Regions from separate parts of the Homo sapiens genome. Here all the other regions are linked to region 1. Evidence: promoter capture Hi-C in 16 types of primary human blood cells and fetal thymus (Javierre and others, 2016). All regions are on one chromosome and are shown on one strand. Each heading gives the region's core, a stretch centred on a gene start or on the middle of the fragment in contact. The rest is flanking DNA. Distances are from core to core; before and after follow the strand shown. Region 1 holds the start of RALGPS2 (Ral GEF with PH domain and SH3 binding motif 2). Region 2 holds the start of QSOX1 (quiescin sulfhydryl oxidase 1). Region 3 overlaps FAM163A (family with sequence similarity 163 member A).

Region 1 (2,882 bases), core at 181-2,680:
AAAGTGTTGGGGAAAAAAAATCCAGGGAGCATAAACGATAAAGCTCAATTAACTGCTGCTTGTGTGATTCCACTTTATGGTCTTAAATACACAGTAGGCATTAGATATTTCTTTTGGGGTTTTTTTTTTTTAACAGAAATTTAGTATTTCAATTGCCCCTCCTCCACAGCTAACATCAGTGCCCTTTCTTCCTCCTCCCTTACCCCTCCCAACTCAAACAAATTAACATTTGTACTAGGTACCTCCTATCAGCTCGCAGCTTCTTCCCAAACACGCCCACGTACACTGAAACTGGCTTGCGTCTACACAACACACAGCTACAGGAAAAGAGCTTCGAGGGGGGAGCTGGGGCGGGGGGTTAATAATTCGCTCCGCACAGGTTTACGGCTATTTTCCAGAAACTAGTTCCTCGCTCGTGGCTCGCGTTTCTTCCAAATCACCTCAAAAGCACGGTGTTTATGAGCCTACCTAATCCGATACTGCAATGGAATTCCGGATATTTGCAGACAGATCTCCCGGCTTTGCAAGTGTTTGATGAGATACGTTCGGAATCTCCTTTTTTTTCTAGAGCCCGGTTCCAGGCCGTAGAGCAAGCCGACCTGGGGCTGCGGCCCCTGCCCCACACCCGGCCCGCGCGCCCGGCCCGAGGCCAGCACAGGACGCAGCCCCTCCGGGGCCGGGGCTGGCGGGGGCCGCTCGGGCTGCGGGCCGCTCTGCAACAGGTCACCCTGACCGCGACTCCGCGGGTTCGCGGGCGGCCAACTCTGCGGCCAGGCTTCTGGGCGCAGCCGCCAGGGCCAGGGGAGGGGGTGTGGCCCGGCTTCTGCTGGTCCTGGCTCCGAGGTCCGGGATCGGGCTCACCTGAAGGAAGACTGAGGCGCCGCTGGGCGCCAGAACAGAGCGGGCGGAGGCTGGGGGCTTCCGCCACCCAAGAGGGAGAGCGAGGCGGGTTCAAGGGGTCGCAGCGCCCCCGGCTTCAGGACGGCGCCCCCGAGCGGGGACCCCACGGCCGCTCCGACTCTGAGAACCCGCGGCCGAGGGAGGCGCGCCGCCCAGCGCCCTTCTCCCTCAGCCTCAGCCCCAGCTCCGCAGCCCCCTCCCTGCGCGCAGGGCGAGCAGCCCCGGGGCCCGCGGCCGGGAGAGCCACACTCCGCAGCGCCGCCGCCGCCATTCCCCGCGCCGCCCGGGGGGCGCCGCGTACCCACCCTCCCTCCCTCCCTCCCCCGCACCGCCCCGCGGCCTGAGCCCACCGACCTGTGCAGCCGCGGCCGTCGCCTCAGAGGACGGAAAGACGATGCCGGCCTCACGCTTCACCGCCACGGCCGCCGCCGCCTAGAGTAGCACTCGTCGACCCGAACAGTCACCGTCTCTCATTCAGCGCCCGCAGCAGCCGCCGCCGCCGCCGCCGCTGCCGCTCGGGGGAGGAGAGTGAGCTGGAACCACCCCGTCCGCGCCAGGGGTGGGGGACGAGAGCGGACCTGGCGGGGGCGCGCGCCAAGCGGGCGGGGCGGAGCCGCGCGCGCGCGCGCACCAACGGAGCGCGCTCGCGGGGGCTCTGAGAGCTGCAGCCGTCAGGGTCTTAACCTCGCGCTTCCCGCCCGCAGCTTTTCGGCCCCGCGGAGCCCAACTGCCGCCGGTGATCGGTGCCCGCAGCGCGCGCAGCCATCCGCAACCCCACCGCCCGGCGCCTGCTGAAAGGAGGGGCTCCCACCGGCCAAACAACGGGGGGGGGAAGGGGTAGGAGGATGGACAGGTGGGGCGTCCGCCACCGCCTGGCCACCCGCTCCCGGAACGCGGCCCTCTGTGAAATCCGCCGTGATGTCTGTGGCCTTCAGCGCCGGGCTCTTCACCTTTAAGGCCAGAGAACAAAGTCTGGAAGCACTTGGCCCCAAGATCAAATATCCAGCCCACGCCAGCGGTGTTTTTAGAAGTCACTGAGGACAAATGAGGGGGCTCCCAATGTGGAGAGTCACCCCACTGTCTTAGATAAGGTCATAAATTATGGTGATCAACATCCTCACACATTAAGATTCGGGAAGTGTTAGAAGTAGGCCTTTGTAAGATGTTACGCAGGGTACTACCCTTGACTTAAGGAGCAAATGACAGAAATTGGGCGGAAAGGTGTTGTTTCAGAGTCTACTAAATGGGTGGCCTACTTAAAGCTAGCACCATTTGATGCAGTGTGACTGTTAACGGAAGGTTTTAAGTGAGCCGCCTTTGTATCTGCTGTCATTAGACCATTTGGAAATGGATAATTATTTGATGATCTGCAGTTCTTTCTCTAGGCAATGTGCAGTAGAATGTGGAAAGAATACTATGTACCAGCATTAAGTGTAAAACATGAAAGGACCAATAATTCACTATTCCCATTTGGTTTCTTTCTTCCCTTTAATAACCGCTAAACAGAACTGATTAATCTTGAACGTTGAAGATTGCTAATTATTTCCTCCTTTGATTGCCTTCTGTCATAGCCCTTTTACTCTAGTTGGGGACGCTAGAATGCCCTTCAACCTCCTTCTCTCAAATAGGGTTACTTTAAAGCACCCCAACGCAAAGTTAAGTCAAAAAGAAAAACAGCGAGGATAGGCAACAAAGTTCGTAGTGTTTCATTTTTATTCCATTTTACTTTCAAAGAAAGTCTTGAATCATGACGAAATCACTAGAAGAAGTAGAGCAATCAAAAGAAGAAAAAAAGCGTTCCCCCCCACCCAATATTTCAAATGACAAGAGTCCAAAAAAGAAAAGAAAAAGGAAGATGATTGGTAAAAAGGAGGGAAGTGCATTATGTATACAGAAAGTTTTCGCATAGATGTTAGTTGCTTCAAGTCCCAAATAAACAACAACTAAATGAATTAGCACTTGGAGGAAAAACCCCTTCCAGT
Region 2 (2,882 bases), core at 209-2,708, 1.4 Mb before region 1:
GTCAGGAAGTAACTCCATTCAGAGGCAGCAAGTCAGGAACAAATCACTATCACTATACCACTCCTGCCCGCCAAATACCCACTACCTGGATTAGGTGGATGTGTGACACCACAGGAATCTTTAAATTGTGGAAAGGAAACTATGAGACAATGTATGCCGAGTACTTAGTAAGGTGCCTGAAATGATAGGTGCTCCGTAAATATTAATTACTATTATTACCATATTTCCTCGACTCTAAGTCTTAAGTGTTTCAAAATTTTAGCATTTCTGTAATAGAGTTCACCTTCAAATCTTTATACATGTAGTGGTTTTTTCCTATCCTTCTACCCCTTGGGCTGTCATAAAATGAACAGTGTGTCTCACAGTTGATGGTGTCTTGGAATTCAGGAAATATAGTTTTGGTGCCCCAACCAGGGATTGGGAACATGGAGCAAGAGCCAAACACGCACCAAAGGCCTCTGGGTGCATGGGTTTAAAATATAAGGGTCTGAGCGGGGGAAGAGAGAGAAGGATGTGGCCCAGAAGCTAAGGAGCTGGAGGCGGCAGGTCAGGAGAGGCCCGGAACAGAGATAGGAAAACTGCCAGGTGGACATACCCACATCAAAGACAAAAATGAGAAAGGAAGTCTATGTACCACCTGGTCAACCAGTCGAGGGAGTGGAGAAAGGTGGCAGGGAGGCAAAATGGATGTCCGTTCCCTTTTCTCCCCAGCACTGACCCACAGCAGCTAGGGAACCTGGCAGGAAGATGACATGGGTCCCTGGACGAGAGGAAGAGGACTGCCACAAGGCTGGCCCAGGAAACGGTAAGGTGTCAGCGGACCATGCGGAGGAAGGAACAAAGGAGACCTCTCGCAGGGAAGGAGGCAGTAACCTGGCGGGGGACGAACCGGGCGAGCAGGGCAGGTCTGGGGGCCCAGGCCGCGGAGAGGGAAAGAAGCTCGGGATGAGGGCCAAGAGGAAAAGGCAAGGGAGCGGGAGGCAAAAATGGAGCTGAGAAACATGAAGGTGGTGGGCGTGGGATGCGCGGAGAGGAAGAGGTGGGCGGAGGTGACTGGAAGAGGGACGCGCTCCCGGAGTAGGAGGCTGCCCACCGGGCAGGTGGAGGGGTCCGGGCGGCGGGGCACGGGGGAGCGGGCCGCCCCCGCTTCTCACCTTTGACGTCTTCGGCCAGCGCCTTCCACGTCGGGGCGAAGGCGATGCAGTGGCCGCACCAGGAGGCGAAGAACTCCACGGCCCAGGCGCTGCGGGAGCCCAGCACCGCGCCGCGCACCGTGTCCGCCTGCAGCAGCGTCAGCGGGTCGGAAGGCGAATAGAGCGCCGACCGCGGGGCCGCGTTAGCGCCGGGAACCGCGAGCAGCCACAGCAGCAGCAGCAGCAGCGACGGCGGCGGCCCGGAGCCGCTGTTGCACCTCCTCATCCTCGGCGCTGCGCTCACCACCACACGCAAGCACCGGATGAGTCGGGTCCCGGCGCCGCGGCACCGCCTGCCTCCGCCCGCAAGGAGGAGCCACGTGGCCCCGCCCCTGAGCCCCCGCCCCCGAGCCCCCGCCCCCGAGGCCGGCCCAGCCACCCCGCCCCGCCGGCCGCTCCTGGGCGCGGGAGCGGGCGGGGCTGAGCTTGTTGCAGGGGCTGGCCCTGGCCGGGTGGTGAGCCATCCTTTCGCGGTCCGCCGAGGCCTCGGAGCAGCGCGACCCGGGTTCCCGCCTCAGGCCCCAGGAGGCGAGGTGTACAGTCCGGTAAAGGAATGGAGCGCCCGCCGAGCGGTCGCTGCGGGGGTAGCCTCGCGGAGGTTGTTTGGCCTCTCACGGCCCCCGTATCCAACGGAAGAGGAGTCCGTTGGAATAGACGACCCGGATTTCGGCTGTTGTAGGGCAGTTCCTGGGCTCCCGCGGAGCGATGAGACGTTGTGAATTAGATGTGAGAAGAGGGACGCTTGGTCTGCGACCACCAAGACCCCACAGGATCGATGCACCCACCCCTGCTGATGACCATGACCATCTAAAGGGGAACATCATTTGAGGGGCCCTACTCATGGATCAGAAGCCCCTCTTCACTGTGGGGTGTGCTGGGTTGGCGGGCAGTTGCCGTGGAATCAGTTTCCTCAGGACCCATATCTGACCACCCTCATAAGGTTGTCAGGGCGATTCCAACATTCGGGGTTCCCAGCAGCCCAGATCCCCCACATCCAGCTCTTCAGCCTACTCAGAGCTCTCCACGCTCACTCACATGTCCCTCTCGCAAGTAGCCCGATCAACTCACCTGGTGTCATGGGCACTAAGGTGTTAATGGATTTTCTCTGGTCACCTTTGCAGCTCCACTGTTTTGAGTGAGTTATTTTAAGGGGAGAAGGTGCTCCTCAGACGGTTGTCACAGTGATATTTTTCCTTTGTGACTGCCAGGTTAGCCCCTTTCACCTGTAAGAGCTTTGAGCCTAGATTTGTTATTCATTTATTCAAGTTTTACTGAGTGGTGTCATGCCAGGCACTTGTTTAGGTATAAGGATAAGGCAGTAAACAAAATATAGACTCTAGGGACGTGGAACTTACATTCCAGTGGGGGTAAAGAGATGATACATAAGTAAATGTAGATCAGATGGTGACCGATGTTATGAAGAAATGTAGACTGGGGTAAGAATAGAGTGGCAGAGGAGGTGCTATTTTACACACGAAGATCAGGGACAGGTCTACCCTTAATATTTGCAAGAACTGAGTCAGTAGTACAAATGGAGGCCCACATATCATGTCTACATATTTTAAAACTACAAATTAAACGGTGATGTAAAATTCCTATCCTTTTATCTTGACATGTATACCTTCATCATAATCTGGAAGGCCACATTTAAGTTTAGGATTCTTGGACCCTTCTGAGATACGCCCTCGA
Region 3 (2,882 bases), core at 188-2,687, 1.1 Mb before region 1:
ACTCCAAGTTATCAAAGATGCAAGACAAGAAGTCTAGAGCAGGAGTGGTGAAGTGGAGGTGGAGAAAGACGGCGGAGAGGGCTGTGTTCCTGGCCCCTCCTTCTCTTCCAATTTAGGGCACCGTTTGAAAAGTGTACAAGTAGTGTCCCTTAGCACAGACTAGACAGCAGAAAAGGACAGTGCAGTTGAGTGGGGGAAGCTTCCTTTTCCACAGGGTGGGGCCCTGCGGCTGCAGCGGGCAGGCAGGCAATCTCGAGCCTGGTTGGAGACCGTGCCCTGAGCAGCGTGGGCTATGTGGGGAAGAGCTGGGGCCCACCATCTCTCCAGCACCCCAAACCCAGATTCTGATTTGTGGGGCTAGCAGGGCTTAGCTAGGAAAGCGGTAGGAGGGAGGGGATTGCACAGGACGCTTGTACTCAGGGACCCCATCAATCAGGGGCAAGAAGTGGGTGATGGTTAACTGGGTCTTGATTTTTACAAAGGCAGGACGTACGAATGATGTTATTTCTGGCAAGGAGGACACGGCTGCTGTGGTTGATTGGCTGTGGAATTCCAGGGGAGCAAGGCACTAGGAAGTGGGGAACGCTGCCAGGCCCAGCAGCTCATCAGGAGCTTGCACTTGGCCCAGTTAGGGCTGGCCGTGGGACGGGCTTGTTGAAGCTGCTGCCGCCATAAGCTGCCCCTCTGCACCAGGAGACAGATCCCATTACCCCACCTACAGCTGCTTCCTGGTACAAGAGAAGAGTTACCATTTGAAATGACTCCACAGGAGAGTCTGACAAACATGTTTGCTTTTCACTGACAATTAAAATTGTTTTGCTGCTAATCTTGTTTTATTGTGGTCTTTCATCCATCAGCAAGCATCCCTGCACGCAAGATCAGAGTTGGGTAAATACATCCAGACCCTGCCAGGATTAGGGCAAGAGGGAGTGCTCTGGGCCGGCAGATCTTTTTCGGAAATTCTCACTTCTTGGAGCACTAAAGGGTTGTTAGTCTATCTGGGCAAGCCTCGTTTCCCTGGAGAAAATGGAGTCTCAGAGATTAGTGACTGGTCCTAGAGCTAATGAGTGACCAAAGTGTGACCAGAGCCCAGGTCTGCTTCTCAACCCAGGGCACTTTGATTCCAGATTGAGATGTAAGGTGACAGGTGCCTTAATAGTGGCGCAAAAGATGTGCATTCCCCTCTTCCTCCCTCCCCGCTCCCTGCTCCCCCAGCGGCACCCTGACCTTCCTCAAATGCAGAATCAAGATTTCAGCAGGGGGGCCAGCCCTTTCCCTGCCCCACCCTCCTCGAATTCAGTGACTCAGGAGTGGGAAGGGGGTTAGCTATGCCCTTAGAAGGGGGCCAGCTTCTGCAGAGGCCACTGGAAAACTCATCAGGATTCTCACTCACAAAGCCACTGCCACATTCTAAGTAGGAAGTCGGAGTTGGAAATGAGGCTGGTGTGAGACACAATAAATGGCTCATCGCCAGGAAACTGGGGAGTAGGGCGGCCAAGGGAGGGCGGCGAGCGTGGAATCCCAAGGCTAAGTCACGTCCCTCCCATCCTCAGGACTGGGCTGTTGCTCTGGTGAGATGAATGAAGATCCTGCTCCACGGCGTCACAGGTGGATGCTTACATAGAATGCCGGGCTCTGGGGGACTTGACGTGGTTTCAGCCGCTGCAGCATCGCCCCACAGAGATTCTGTGCTCTTCCTGTTCACCAGCCCGCTGTCTGCCATGGGGATTGGTCACGTGTTAACCACCTTTCGTTCAAGCTGTTTCGGGATCAGACTTTTCCTTCTCTGGTACATGGGAGACCTTTCCTCTCTGCAGCTCCTGAATGTACAAAGCCCCTGGTGCCTACCCGTGGTTACTGTGTGTGTGTGTGTGTGTGTGTGTGTGTGTGTGTGTCTGTGCGCGCGCGCGCGCGTGCGTACACCTGGGAACGGTTATGCACACCCTCACAGGACTGCATCCACACAAGCTACTCGGCGTGGTGGGCTGGGCCGAGAGACAGTCAGCTGGTCTCTTTGCTAAGCTACCAGAAGTCGGCTAACAAAATGAAAAAACTTCTCCAGCAGGGGGCGCTGGTTCCTAAGTCAGAGAAAGGATTTCGGGGAACACAAGGTTAGACACTTTCTGGTGCAGTCCCCACAAGCCACCTTAGGCTTTAAAGTCAACTTGACACGTCCCACGAGGAAGGGGGCAGGTGAGATGTGATACGTTCAGGAATCAACGACCCTACGGGAGCAGCTACAGTGACAGCAGTAGCTATGGTAACCAACGTACAAAGCTGGGCTGTGAACTAGCTGTTGGAGTCGTTTCAGCAAGCGCGTCCTGAAGCAGTGCCGTTGACGCCCCGCCCCTCGCTTCTCCAATGCTGGAATTGTAGCTCTCACTTCTCTCCTTGCCCTCTGTCCCCTTTTCCTAGGCACGGATGCTTCATCTCCCGAGGACCCGGGAGGCCTCCTGAGCCTTTGCTGAGCTTTCCCTGGTGCTCCTTTTTGCAGTCCAGCGAATCCAGGGGACTGGGGCACACTGCAAGGGGTTGTGGTGGTGCTGGGGCTGCCAGAGGAGTGTCCCAACCAAGAAACTGGCGAAGCTGCAGACTCGACCTAGCAGTCCCCCACCTCTGGCCCACAGAGTTGGAGCCAGGCCCTGTCTTGGTTCTCAATGCACTCAAAAGCTTAAATCCTAGTAAACCCTCCACTGCGGAGCGAGAAAAGCCAAAGAAACAGAAACAACCCATGTGGGGCTGTTGGAGGGTCATTCATCACCCCCATGGCCCCCGCCAGGGCAGCAGTGTGGGTGTGTGTGCGGGTCGGGGTGGAAGGATTTACACGTCTGTACTAATAGCCCTTGGATTGGTGAAGGCCTCACGCCCAGAGCCTGGCCAGG

What was found. Contacts are between HindIII fragments. The CHiCAGO score rates a contact against its expected background, and 5 or more counts as called.
Region 2: the fragment with the promoter of QSOX1 here is called in contact with the fragment with the promoter of RALGPS2 in region 1 in 1 of 17 cell types (non-activated CD4 T cells); the score reaches 5.6 in non-activated CD4 T cells.
Region 3: a contact is called between a fragment that was not itself captured here and the fragment with the promoter of RALGPS2 in region 1, in 1 of 17 cell types (non-activated CD4 T cells). The highest score is 5.2, in non-activated CD4 T cells.

Annotation. Positions count from the first base shown.
Region 1 is chr1:178,723,792-178,726,673 of GRCh38, reverse strand. It overlaps RALGPS2 (Ral GEF with PH domain and SH3 binding motif 2), which reads right to left and starts at 1,430. Exons shown (of 20, transcript NM_152663.5): 1 at 1,255-1,430. It overlaps RALGPS2-AS1 (RALGPS2 antisense RNA 1), which reads left to right and starts at 390. Exons shown (of 1, transcript NR_187252.1): 1 at 390-2,882. RefSeq lists silencers at 621-850, 1,051-1,170, 1,431-1,600, 1,502-1,656 and an enhancer at 491-1,080. The HindIII fragment of the contact is 4,509 bases long and covers 1-2,882 here.
Region 2 is chr1:180,153,445-180,156,326 of GRCh38, reverse strand. It overlaps QSOX1 (quiescin sulfhydryl oxidase 1), which reads right to left and starts at 1,458. Exons shown (of 12, transcript NM_002826.5): 1 at 1,155-1,458. The coding sequence starts at 1,419. LOC105371636 (a long non-coding RNA gene) reads left to right here and starts at 1,489. Exons shown (of 2, transcript XR_001738314.3): 1 at 1,489-2,328. RefSeq lists an enhancer at 1,184-1,283 and a silencer at 1,464-1,783. The HindIII fragment of the contact is 9,170 bases long and covers 1-2,882 here.
Region 3 is chr1:179,814,128-179,817,009 of GRCh38, reverse strand. FAM163A (family with sequence similarity 163 member A) reads right to left here. Exons shown (of 5, transcript NM_173509.3): 5 at 812-2,882. The coding sequence ends at 2,821. It overlaps LOC105371634 (a long non-coding RNA gene), which reads left to right. Exons shown (of 5, transcript XR_007066756.1): 4 at 483-2,111; 5 at 2,416-2,715. Among named protein-coding and RNA genes, the nearest start is that of MIR12116, 12 kb to the right of the region's middle. The HindIII fragment of the contact is 2,471 bases long and covers 202-2,672 here.